Regions from separate parts of the Homo sapiens genome. Here region 2 is linked to region 1. Evidence: promoter capture Hi-C in human tissues and cell types (Jung and others, 2019). All regions are on one chromosome and are shown on one strand. The core of a region is centred on a gene start or on the middle of the fragment in contact, and the rest is flanking DNA. Distances in the headings are between cores, read along the strand shown. Region 1 holds the start of NWD1 (NACHT and WD repeat domain containing 1). Region 2 overlaps NWD1 (NACHT and WD repeat domain containing 1).

Region 1 (5,612 bases), core at 50-2,549:
GGGTGCAGTGGCTCACACCTCTAATCCCAGCACTTTGAGAGGCCAAAACAGGCAGATTACTTGAGGCCAGGAGTTCGAGACCAGCCTGGCCAACATGGCGAAACCCCATCTCTACTAAAAATACAAAAATTAGCTGGCGCGGTGGCATGTACCTGTAATCCCAGCTACTCGGAAGCCTGAGGCAGGAGAATCGCTTGAACCCGGGAAGCAGAGGTTGCAGTGAGCCGAGATCGTGCCACTGCGCTCCAGCCTGGGCAACAGAGCAAGGCTCCATCTCAAAAAGAAAAAGTCTCGGCCAGGTGCGGTGGCTCACGCCTGTAATCCCAGCACTTTGGGAAGCCGAGGAGGGCAGATCATGAGGTCAGGAGATCGAGACCATCCTGGCTAACACGGTGAAACCCCGTCTCTACTAAAAATACAAAAAATTAGCCGGGCATGTGGCGGACACCTGTAGTCCCAGCTACTCAGGAGGCTGAGGCAGGAGAATGGTGTGAACCTGGGAGGCAGAGCTTGCAGTAACTGAGATCACGCCACTGCACTCCAGCCTAGTGACAGAGCGAGACTCCGTCTCAAAAAAAAAAAAGTCTCCCTAGACATTGCAATGTCCCCTAGGGGGCAGAATTCCCCTTACTCGAGAACCCCCTAGTCTAATGCATTTAGCTTATTTCAACCTCAGGGCCTTTGCACGTCCTGTACTTTAGTGCTCTATGCTGCATCTGTTCATGTTGTTCACATTTTAGCTTCAATGCTACCTCCTCCTGAGAGGCTGTCTCTGACCATCCCATTGCGTAGTGACCCCTTAAGTCACTCCCAATGCCATCGCCTTATTTTAATTTTCTGCATGGTACTCACCAACAGCTGATATGTTTCTACATGTTATTGTTTGTCTGTCCCACGAGAAAGTGAATTCCATGAGCCCAAGGATCTTGTCTGGTAAGGCTGGCGTGCCTGGCACATAGTAGGTGCTCAGTAAATTATCATCACAACAGCTTCCTCCACAACTGTTTCTCTTTCTGGACTTCTGTTTGTTGCTGAAGAAGACAGCTGAGCAGGACTGGGCTTCCCCAGTAAGGACAGAGGCCCTTTGCAGTGTCAGCGTTCTGGCTGTCCTGGGGGCTCCAGCCTCTCTTTAGCCTTTGCTGGTAGTTGAACGACCAATTTAGACTCCTCTGGGGAAATAGGTTAGAGAGGACAGTTTCCTGGCCTCGGCGCCACCCGGAAGACAAGCCCCTGGCTATCCTAGTAACTTTCGTCTTAGGTATTTTATGGGTCTCTCCTTGCCCAATTCTCCCAGCAACTGGGATAATGAAAGCGATTGTTTGCACTAGGGCACCAGCTTAGCCGGGCATTCAGCCCAGACTTAGTGGTTAACTATTGTGTGCCAGGCTGATACGGCTCCTCGTAAAAGATGCCATTTGCTGACAGTCTAGGAGGTGCAGTTGGTTGGCATTTGGCATTAGCAGTCCACATTATTACCCCAAGAGACAGACATTATGATCCTGTTTCACAGATGAAGAAAACAAGATGCAGAAAGGTGAAGTCCCTTGCCTGTGACGCTTCACTACTCTGCACTTGAATTTTCTCACTAACTTCCTGTGTTGGTGAGACAATGAAAAGCATTTATATAGAGAGTGAGACTAACACTACACCTACATCACAGGAAGGGCCCGTGAGATGTTAGCCATGATTAATTACCATTAAAACTCCAAGACCGGGCACGGTGGCTCATGCCTGTAATCCCAGCACTTTGGGAGGCCGAGGCAGGCGGATCACCTGAGGTCAGGCATTCAAGACCAGACTGGCCAATATGGTGAGACCCCTATCTCTACTAAAAATAGAAAAATTAGCTGGGCGTGGTGACGCATGCCTGTAATCCCAGCTACTTGGGAGGCTGAGGCACAAGAATTGTTTGAACCTGGGAGTTGGAGGTTGCAATGAGCCGAGATCCTGCCACTGCACTGCAGCCTGGGCGACAGAGCAAGACTTTGTCTCAAAAACTCACAAATCACCCGGGCATGGTGGCTCACGCTAGTAATCCCAGCACTTTGGGAGGCCAAGGCAGGCAGATCACGAGGTCAGGAGATCAAGACCATCCTGGCTAACACGGTGAAACCCCGTCTCTACAAAAAAAACAAAACAAAACAAAACAAAAAATTAGCTGGGCGTGGTGGTTTGCACCTGTAGTCCCAGCTACTCAGGAAGCTGAGGCAGGAGAATGGCATGAACCCGGGAGGTGGAGCTTGCAGTGAGCCGAGATCGCACCACTGCACTCCAGCCTGGGTGACAGAGCGAGACTTTGTCTCAAAAACTCACAAGTCACCCAGGCATGGTGGCTCACGCCAGTAATCCCAGCACTTTGGGAGGCCAAGGCAGGCAGATCACGAGGTCAGGAGATCAAGACCATCCTGGCTAACATGGTGAAACCCTGTCTCTACATAAAAAACAAAAAACAAAAAACAAAAAATTAGCTGGGCGTGGTGGTTTGCACCTGTAGTCCCAGCTACTCAGGAAGCTGAGGCAGGAGAATGGCATGAACCTGGGAGGTGGAGCTTGCAGTGAGCCGAGATTGCGCCACTGCACTCCAGCCTGGGCGACAGAGCAAGCCTCCATCTCAAAGAAAAAGTAATAATAATAGTGTTACTATATTTTCAGGGATAGAAGTTTCAGATACTTGGTCAGGCGCGGTGGCTCATGCCTGTAATCCCAGCACTTTGGGAGGCCGAGGTGGGCAAATCACCTGAGGTCAGGAATTTGAGACCAGCTTGGCCAATATGGTGAGACCCCATCTCTACTAAAAACAAAAATTAGCCAGGCATGGTGGCAGGTGCCTGTAATCCCAGCTACTTGGGAGGCTGAGGCAGGAGGATCACTTAAACCTGGGAGGCAGAGGTTGCAGTGAGCAGAGATTACGCCATTGCACTCCAGCCTGGACGACAGAGCCACACTACACTCCATCTCACAAAAAAAAAAAAAAAAGAAGTTTCAGGTGCTGCCAGGCACAGTGGCATGCTCCTGTAGTCCCAGCTACTGGGGAAGCCAAGGTGGGAGGATCACTCAAGGCCAGGAGTTCAAGACCAGCCTGGGCAACATAGTGAGACCCTCATCTCTACAACAACAACAATAACAAAAAATTAGCTGGGCGTGGTGGTGTGTGCCTGTAGTCCCAACTACTCGGGAGGTTGAGGTGGGAGGATTACTTGAGCCCAGAAAGTCAAGGCTGCAGTGAGATATGATTGCCTCACTGCACTCTAGCCTGGGCAACAGAGCAAAACCCTGTCTCTTTAAAACAAAAAAAGAAAAAGAAAAGAAAAGAAGTTTTAGGGGCTGAAATTTTAGGAAACATACTGTCTCCAATACTCCAAGCAATCTGGGGGCTTCAATTTACTATCCCAGTTCATTGATGATGAAAACAGGCTTCCAGACCAACGTGATGAAACCCTGTCTCTACTAAAAATACAAAAATTAGCTGGGCGTGGTGGTGAGCACCTGTAATCCCAGCTACTCGAGAGGCTGAGGCAGGAGAATCGCATGAACCCGGAAGGCGGAGGTTGCAGTGAGCCGAGATCACGCCATTGCACTCCAGCCTGGGTGACAAAGTGAGACTGCGTTTAAAAAAAAAAAGAAGAAGAAAGAAAATAGGCTTCAAAGAAGTTAAACAATTTCCCAAGTTTCCTTGGCAAGGAAGTGAGCTAACAGCCAAATTCGGATATGATTCCAAAACTCCACAGTTATTGGCTAAACTGGAATCTACAGATATTAAAAAATTATTGGCAAAGTTTTTGCAGTGTGACAATGGTATTGCGGTGAGGTTTTTGTTTTTATTTTTGTTTTTGTTTTCGAGACAGTTTTGCTCTTGTCATCCAGGCTGGAGTGCAATGGCATGATCTTGGCTTACTGCAACCTCCGCCTCCCACGTTCAAGCAATTCTCCTGTCTCACCCTCCCGAGTAGCTGGGATTAGAGGCACCTGCCACCACACCTGGCTAATATTTTGTATTTTTAGTAGAGACGGGGTTTCACCATGTTGTCCAGGCTGGTCTGGAACTCCTGACCTCAGGTGATGCACCCGCCTCGGCCTCCCAAAGTGCTGGGATTACAGGCATGAGCCACCATGCCCAGACTGGTTAGGCTTTTAAAGAGTCTGGGCCAGGTGCAGTGCCTCATGCCTGTTATCCCAGCAGTTTGGGAGGCCAAGGCAGGAGGATCACTTAAGCTCAGGAGTTCAAGACCAGACTGGCCAACATATTGAGACTCCATTTTTACAAAAAATTAAAAAATTAACTAGACATGGTGCATGTGCCAGTGGTCCCTGCTACTCTGAGGTGGAAGGATCACTTGAACCTGGGAAGTTGAGGCTGCAATGAGTCGTGATCACGCCACTGTGCTCCAGCTTGGGCAACAGAGTGAGACCCTGTCTCAAAAAAAAAAAAAAAAGAGTGTGTATGTTTTAGAGACATATAACAAAATATTTATGGAATGATAAGATAGCTGAGATTTGCTTCAAAATAATACCTGACAGGAAGGCAAATGGGATGGGGGCGGGGTTGGCGAGGTTGAGTAGGGGGTGATGGTGGTTAGGGTGGGCTGCGGTTCATTATACTATTCTGCCTACTTTAGTGAGTGTTTTAAATTCCCTATCAGAATATGCTTCAATTTTGTACTCTTAAAAAATAGTGGCTGGGGCCGGGCACACTCCCAGCACTTTGGGAGGCCCAGGCGGGATGATCACTTGAGGCCCAGAGTTTGAGACCAGCCTGGCCAACATGGTGAAATCCCATCTCTACTAAAAATACAAAAAAAAAAAAAAATTAGCCAGGCGTGGTGGTGCATGCCTGTAATCCCAGCTACTTGGGAGGCAGAAGCAGGAGAATTGCTCGAACCCAGGAGGCGGAAGTTGCAGTGAGCTGAGATCACACCACTGCACTCCAGCCTGGGGGACAGAGCAAGACTGTCTCAAAAAAAAAAAAAAATAGTGGCTGGGAATGTTGGCTGACGCCTGTAATCCCAGCATTTTGGGAGGCTGAGGCAGGTGGATTGCTTGAGCCCAGGAGTTCGAGACCAGCCTGGACAATATAGTGAGATCCCATATCTACAAAAAATAAAAATTCACCAGACTTGGTGGTGCATGCCTGTAGTCCCAGCTACTGGGCAGGCTGAGGTGGGAGGATCACTTGAGCCCAAGAGGTTGAGGCTGCAGTGAGCTATGACTGCACCACTGCACTCCAGCCTGGGTGACAGAGCAAGACCCTGTTTTAAAAAAAAAAAAAAAAATCGTGATTATCCTTATGCATTGAGTAACCACGAGCCCAGGGCTAGGGGATTTCTGTGTAGTCAACCTTAGAACCAACACAGGGGTTAGGAGTGCCAAGCTCACCCCTACAGTCAAAAATCTGCATGTAACTTTTGACTGCATGTAACACCTACTATTGACCAAAAGCCTTATTGATGACATAAATGGTCGATGAACACTGATTTTCTACATTCTATGTATTATATACTGTATTCTTGCAATAAGTAAGCTAGAGAAAAGCAAATGTCACTAAAAAAATTCTGGTGTTTTGTTTTTGTTTTGTTTTTTGTTTGTTTGTTTCATTATTTGAGATGGAGTCTCAC
Region 2 (5,939 bases), core at 1,108-3,607, 52 kb before region 1:
GATGGATGGATGGATGGATAGATGGATGGATGAATGGATGGGTGGGTGGGAGGCTGGTGGATGGATGGATAGATGAATGGAAGGGTGGGAGGTAGATAGAGAGATGAATGAATGGATGGGAGGGTAATTGGATGGAAGAGTAGGAAGGTGAATGAAAGGATGGATGCATAGATGGTTGGATGAATGGAAGGAAGAAAAAAATGAATGACAAATGGATGGCAAAACCTAAATCCTCTCCTCTCCCTTACATTCTGGGATTCCAAGGGCTGCTTACAGTTCCTTCAGCTTCTCAGAGGACTGTCAGGCATCAGTTCCTAGCTTTCAGAATTACTAGCATGAGCTTGTAAATAGCTGAAACTGTCAGATGGGCACCAATCCCTTGGAGATGGGAAGCTTGGAGGCACCCCCTAGCATCGGGCTCATTAGAAGAATTTATATGAGACATCTACAGTCCCTTGAGGTGGGGCAGAGAGAGCTGATTCAGCATGAGACAGCAGGGGCAGGCTCTGATGGCAAGCTTGGGGCCTCCCAACTAGCACAGGGGAGTCCCAGAGGACAACCTCAAACACCTGGCCTTCACTGCCCCCAGGCAAGCAGGTGCCTGCTGGGATTTTTGCTATGCTGGGGAGACTCACCTTTGTGACAGCCGCTGAGAGTTGCCCGGAGGGGTCCTCCCGGGGGCTGGAGGAATCCTCCGAGGGGCACCAGCACAGGGTGTGCGCACAACTGGAACCAGCTCTGGGCCTGTTGGCATAGCTGTCCCACCAGTGCTGGATGTGAGGTGGCGAAGAAATGGAGTCTGGCCAGCAGTTCTGTGTACAGGAGGCTCCTCTCTGCAACAAAGGGATGTAGACTAAGTTGCCTGGATTGAGCCCCCTCTACCCTCCCTGCCAATTGAGTCTCTGCTCCCTGCAGGGGCTCCAGAACAAAAGAAGACACAATACCTCAGCTACTGGCCTCTGCTGTCCGCTCCTGTCTCCTTCTCTGCTCTCCAGACACACTTACCCTTGCTTCAGAGGCACCCAGCTGTTTCCAGTCTCCAGCCTTTGCCCAGGTTGCCTAGAATGCTTCCCTTTCCTTCCTCCCTCCCTTCTTCTCTCCCTCTCTCCCTTCCTTTCTTCCTTCCTCTTTTATCACACTCTGTTGTCCCGGCTGGAGTGCAGTGGCATGATCAAAGCTAACTGCAGCCTCAAACTTCTGGGCTCAAGCAATCCTCCCATCTCAGCCTCCCAAATACTAGGGACTACAGGCATGCGCCACCACACTCAGCTAATTTATTTGTTTGTTTTATTTTATTTTATTTATTTATTTTTGAGATGGAATTTTAGCCTGTCACCTAGGTTGGAGTGCAATGGTGCGATCTTGGCTCACTGCAACCTGCACCTCCCAGGTTCAAGCGATTCTCCTGCCTCAGCCTCCCTAATAGCTGGGACTACAGGTGCCCGCCACCAGGCCCAACTAATTTTTGTGTGTCTAGTGGAAACGGGGTTTCACCATGTTGGCTGGGCTGACCTCAAGTGATCCACCTGCCTCGGCCTCCTAAAGTGCTGGGATTACAGGCATGAGCCACCGCGCCTGGCTATTTATTTTTTTAGAGACAGGGTCTTACTCTGTCACCCAGGCTGGAGTGCAGTGGCACGATCGCAGCTCACTGCAGCCTCAAACTCCTGGGCTCAAGCGATCTTCCGGCCACAGCCTCTATATTAGCTGGGACTGCAGATGCACGTCACCACGCCTCGTTAGTTTTTTATTTTTTGTAGAGACGGGGTCTCGTTATGTTGCCCAGGCTGGTCTCAAACTTCTGGGCTCAAGATATCCTCCTTCCTCGACCCCTCAAAGCTCTGGAATTATAGGCGTGAGCCACTGTGCTCAGACTCAACCTTTTCAATAAAAGTAGGATCAGAGGAGGGATATATTGGAAATCTTTGTACCTTTCACTCAATTTTGCTGTGAACCTAAAACCGTTCTATTAAAAAATGGGCTATTAAGAAAAATTAGCCGAGCATGGTGGCGCGCAGGCCTGTAATCCCAGCTACTCGGGAGGCTGAGACAGGAGAATCGCTGGAACCCAGGAGGCAGAAGTTGGGTGACAGAGCGAGGCTCCTTCTCAAAAAAAAAAAAAAAAAAGGACTCGTGATCGCGTTGGATCATTTAGGATGTTATGTTGAATGGTCCCCATTCGCCAGCGTGCTTGGATGTACGGAGAGCACATGGTTGTCCAGCAGCGCCCTCTGGTGATAACATTTGTTCCTACACCTCCTCCTTGTGCTGGGGGAGCCACAGGTTGTCAATCAAGGGGCTTTGCAGGGAACTTGCTGAGAGATCTGGGCTTTTAAATCTTCCTTAAAATGGGAAGTCATGCCCAAGGCTGTTTTCCTGGGAAGTTGCTCCATCAAGGTTTACAACTCCTGGCGAGCGCCTCTCGCGTTATTTTTCTTTCCAGTTGCCTTAAATTCCAGTTGTTTGGTATGCTGTTCCATCTCCTTCTCTTTATTTATTTGTGTATTTTGAGACAGAGTCTTGCTCTGTCGTGCAAGTTGGAGTGCGGTGGCGTGATCTCGGCTCACCGCAACATCTGCCTCCCGGGTTCAAGCAATTTTCGTGCCTCAGCCTCCCAAGAAGCTGGGATTACAGGCATGCACCACCACACCCGGCTAATTTTTGTATTTTTAGTAGAGATGGGGTTTCACTGTCACCAAGGCTGGTCTCAAACTCCTGGCCTCAAGCAATCTGCCTGCCTCGGCTTCTCAAAGTATTGGGGTTACAGGCGTGAGCCACTGTGCCCAGCCATCTATCTATTTTTAACTAATTAATTTTTTTTTACAGAGATAGGGTCTCGCTATGTTGCCCAGGATGGTCTTGAACTCCTGCCCTCTAGCAATCCTTCTGTCTGGGCCTCCCAAAGTGCTGGGATTAGAAGCGTGAACCCCCGCACTCGGCCCCATCTCCCTCTCTTAAAGGCTGAGACAAACATTAACTATATTTAGGTCCCTGTGGGAGCTGGGGCTATGGCAGATAATCAGTAGGGGTTGTGTGAATGCATAAGAAAGGCATAAATGATTGCAGGCACCAGCATCTTCACATTGGGTGGAGTTCTGGACACATTTTAGTTCAATTGCACATTTTGCAGATGACAAAAATAGGGTTTCAGGGCAGAAATAGCTCATCCTAGGCTATTCATGTCAACAATGCTATCATATGACAGTAACAGGACCCTCGATGGCAACACGGGTGGAGGTTCTGTGTGAACTGATGCGCGTACTCTTCCCAGCAGCCCTAGGTGGGATGGTCACTCAGCATCCCTATTCTGCAGATGGGAAAACTGAGGGCTGTGGGGCAGGGGGAGGGATGGTAAAGGGTTTGCAAGGTCACACTGCCAAGAAGTGGCAGCGCCAAGATTTCAATGGACACGGTGGGGCTCAAAATTTGTGGTCTCTGTGTGTATTTGTCTGTTCTCATGCTGCTAATAAAGACATACCTGAAACTGGGTAATTTATAAAGGAAAGAGGTTTAATTGACCTACAGTTCTGCAGGGCTGGGGAGGCCTCAGGAAACTTACAATCACGGTGGAAGGGGAAGCAAACACGCCCTTCTTCACAAGGCGGGAGGAGAGAGAAGAATGAGAGCTGAGCAAAGGGGGAAGCCCCTTATTTTAAAAAGCCCCATCAGATCTCTTGAGAGCTTACTCAGTATCAGGAGAACAGCATGGAGGAAAACACCTCCATGATTCGATTATCTCCACCTGGTCCCTCCCTCAATGTGTGGGGATTATGGGAAATACAATTCAAGATGATAGCTGGGTGGGGACACAGCCAAACCATATCAATGTGTTAAAGGTAAAAATTTGGCAGGGAGAAAACAGATGATGCCATTGGCCTTATGGAGCTCAGAGTCTGATGTGGCAGACAGATGATGCAAAAGAAAACCAAGAGAAATCATAATTAAAGGCAAAGACAAGCCAGGGGTGGTGGTGTGCACCTGTGGTCCCAGCTACTTGGGAGGCTGAGGTGAGAGGACCACTGGAGCCCAGGAGTTTGAAGGTGCTGTGCGCTATGATCATGCCATTGCACTCCAGCCTGGACAACAGGGCAAGACTTTGTCTCTAAAAAAAGAAAAAAGAAAAAGAGCCAAGACAGATGGAAAACAGGGTGCAGTGATAGAAAATTCAGAGGCAAGGATCGGGGAGACATAGAGAAGTTAAGCTTCAGTGGTGGCCAGACAAGGCTTCTCTGAGGAATCGCATTTAGCTGAGCTCCAAAGTTGCCACAGAAGGGCTGGGGGAGGCGAGTCCCAGCCCAGGGCCCCCGGCACGCAAGCTTGGATGTTTCCATCACTGTCTGGGGCAGTAAGGATGGAGACAAGCATCTCCCAGGAGAGTGAGTCATACACAGCCATGTAGGCTACAGTACTGGAAAGGTCATTATCCCAAGGACAATGGGAGAACCATCTAGAAGATTCAATAGAGATACTTAGTGAGATTTGGGCTCTTTTTTTTTTTTAATGGAATTTTGCTCTGTCGCCAAGGCTGGAGTGCAGTGGTGTGATCCCGGCTCACTGCAACCTCTGCCTGCTGGGTTCAAGCAATTCTCCTGCCTCAGCCTCCCGAGTAACTGGGATTACAGGTGCGTGCTACCGTGCCTGGCTAATTTTTGCATTTTTAGTAGAGATGGGGTTTCACCCTGTTGGCCAGGCTGGTCTCAAACTCCTGACCTCAAGTGATCTGCCTGCCTCAGCCTCCCGAAGTGCTGGGATTATAGGCATGAGCCACCACACCTGGCCATCTGATGGTTTTATAAGGCAATTTTCCCAGCTTTTGTTCCCTGTCTCTTGAACACCTGGCATCAAGTGATCCACCTGCCTCAGCCTCCCAAAGTGCCGAGATAACAGGCTTGAGCCACCCCGGCCGTTTTGGGCTTTCAAGATTCTTCTGAGTGCTGTATGGAAAATAAACCAAAGGGTAAGAATGAATCCAAAGTAGGCAGACCTCCGAGGATGCTGTCTGGAGGAGAGACAGCAGCACTGGCCCTGGGCTGATGGCCAGGAGAATAAAGAGAAGCAGATAGTTCAAGGATGGTTTGCAGGGCCAGGATTAGAAGCTCTGCATAGGAATCACAGGCCACTGGTCATCCTTTTTAACATCCTATTCACATCCATGGGGAAGCACTTTGGATACAGAGACTTAAGCATCTTGAATACTCCCCCTTCCTTTGTGAATTCAGCTCACAATTTATTGCTCTTTGTTAACATGGTATTTAAGGCCCCAGGTCTAAACACTCCTTTGAGTTTTCACTTTTCTGTGAAACTTCTGTGCATGTAAAATTAAAATGTGTGAGCCCTTTCTCCTGTTAAGCTGTCTTAATTCACAGGCCCCTATCACTGAACATAAAAGGGTAGAGAAAAAGATATTATTTATTGTCTCCCATAGTTTGATTATAAAATGGTGTAGCTTTTGTGGAAAATGAAGTGGTCGTTCCTCAAAAAGTTAAACACAAAATTTCCATGTGATCTAGTGATTCCTTTTCACAATATCCAAAAGGTAGAAACACACAAATGTCCACAGACAGATGAACGGATAAACAAAATGTGGCATATTCATACAATGCAATATTATTAAGCCTTTAAAAGGAAGGAAATTCTTAGCCTTGAAAAGGAAGGAAATTCTTAGCCAGGCATGGTAGCTCAAGCCTGTAATCCCAGCACTTTGGGAGGCCAAGGTGGGCAGATCACATGAGGTCAGGAGTTCGAGACCAGCCTGGCTAACATAGCAAAACCCCATCTCTACTAAAAAATACAAAAATTAGCTGCATGTGGTGGCACACACCTGTAATCCCAGCTACTCTGGAGGCTGAGGCAGGACAATTGCTTGAGCAACCCAGGAGGTGGAGGTTGCGGTGAGCTGAGATCGTGCCACTGCACTCCAGCCTGGGTGACAGAGCGAG

Evidence for each region. The method cuts DNA at HindIII sites, captures the fragments that hold promoters and counts their contacts. A contact is called where the count stands out against the background at its distance.
Region 2: a contact is called between a fragment that was not itself captured here and the fragment with the promoter of NWD1 in region 1, in 5 of the 25 tissues and cell types used here (adrenal gland, aorta, mesenchymal stem cells and 2 more).

The regions. Positions count from the first base shown.
Region 1 is chr19:16,715,534-16,721,145 of GRCh38, reverse strand. It overlaps NWD1 (NACHT and WD repeat domain containing 1), which reads right to left and starts at 1,299. Exons shown (of 19, transcript NM_001007525.5): 1 at 853-1,299. The HindIII fragment of the contact is 25,691 bases long and covers 1-5,612 here.
Region 2 is chr19:16,768,020-16,773,958 of GRCh38, reverse strand. It overlaps NWD1 (NACHT and WD repeat domain containing 1), which reads right to left. Exons shown (of 19, transcript NM_001007525.5): 11 at 636-833. Among named protein-coding and RNA genes, the nearest start is that of NWD1, 51 kb to the right of the region's middle. The HindIII fragment of the contact is 3,804 bases long and covers 456-4,259 here.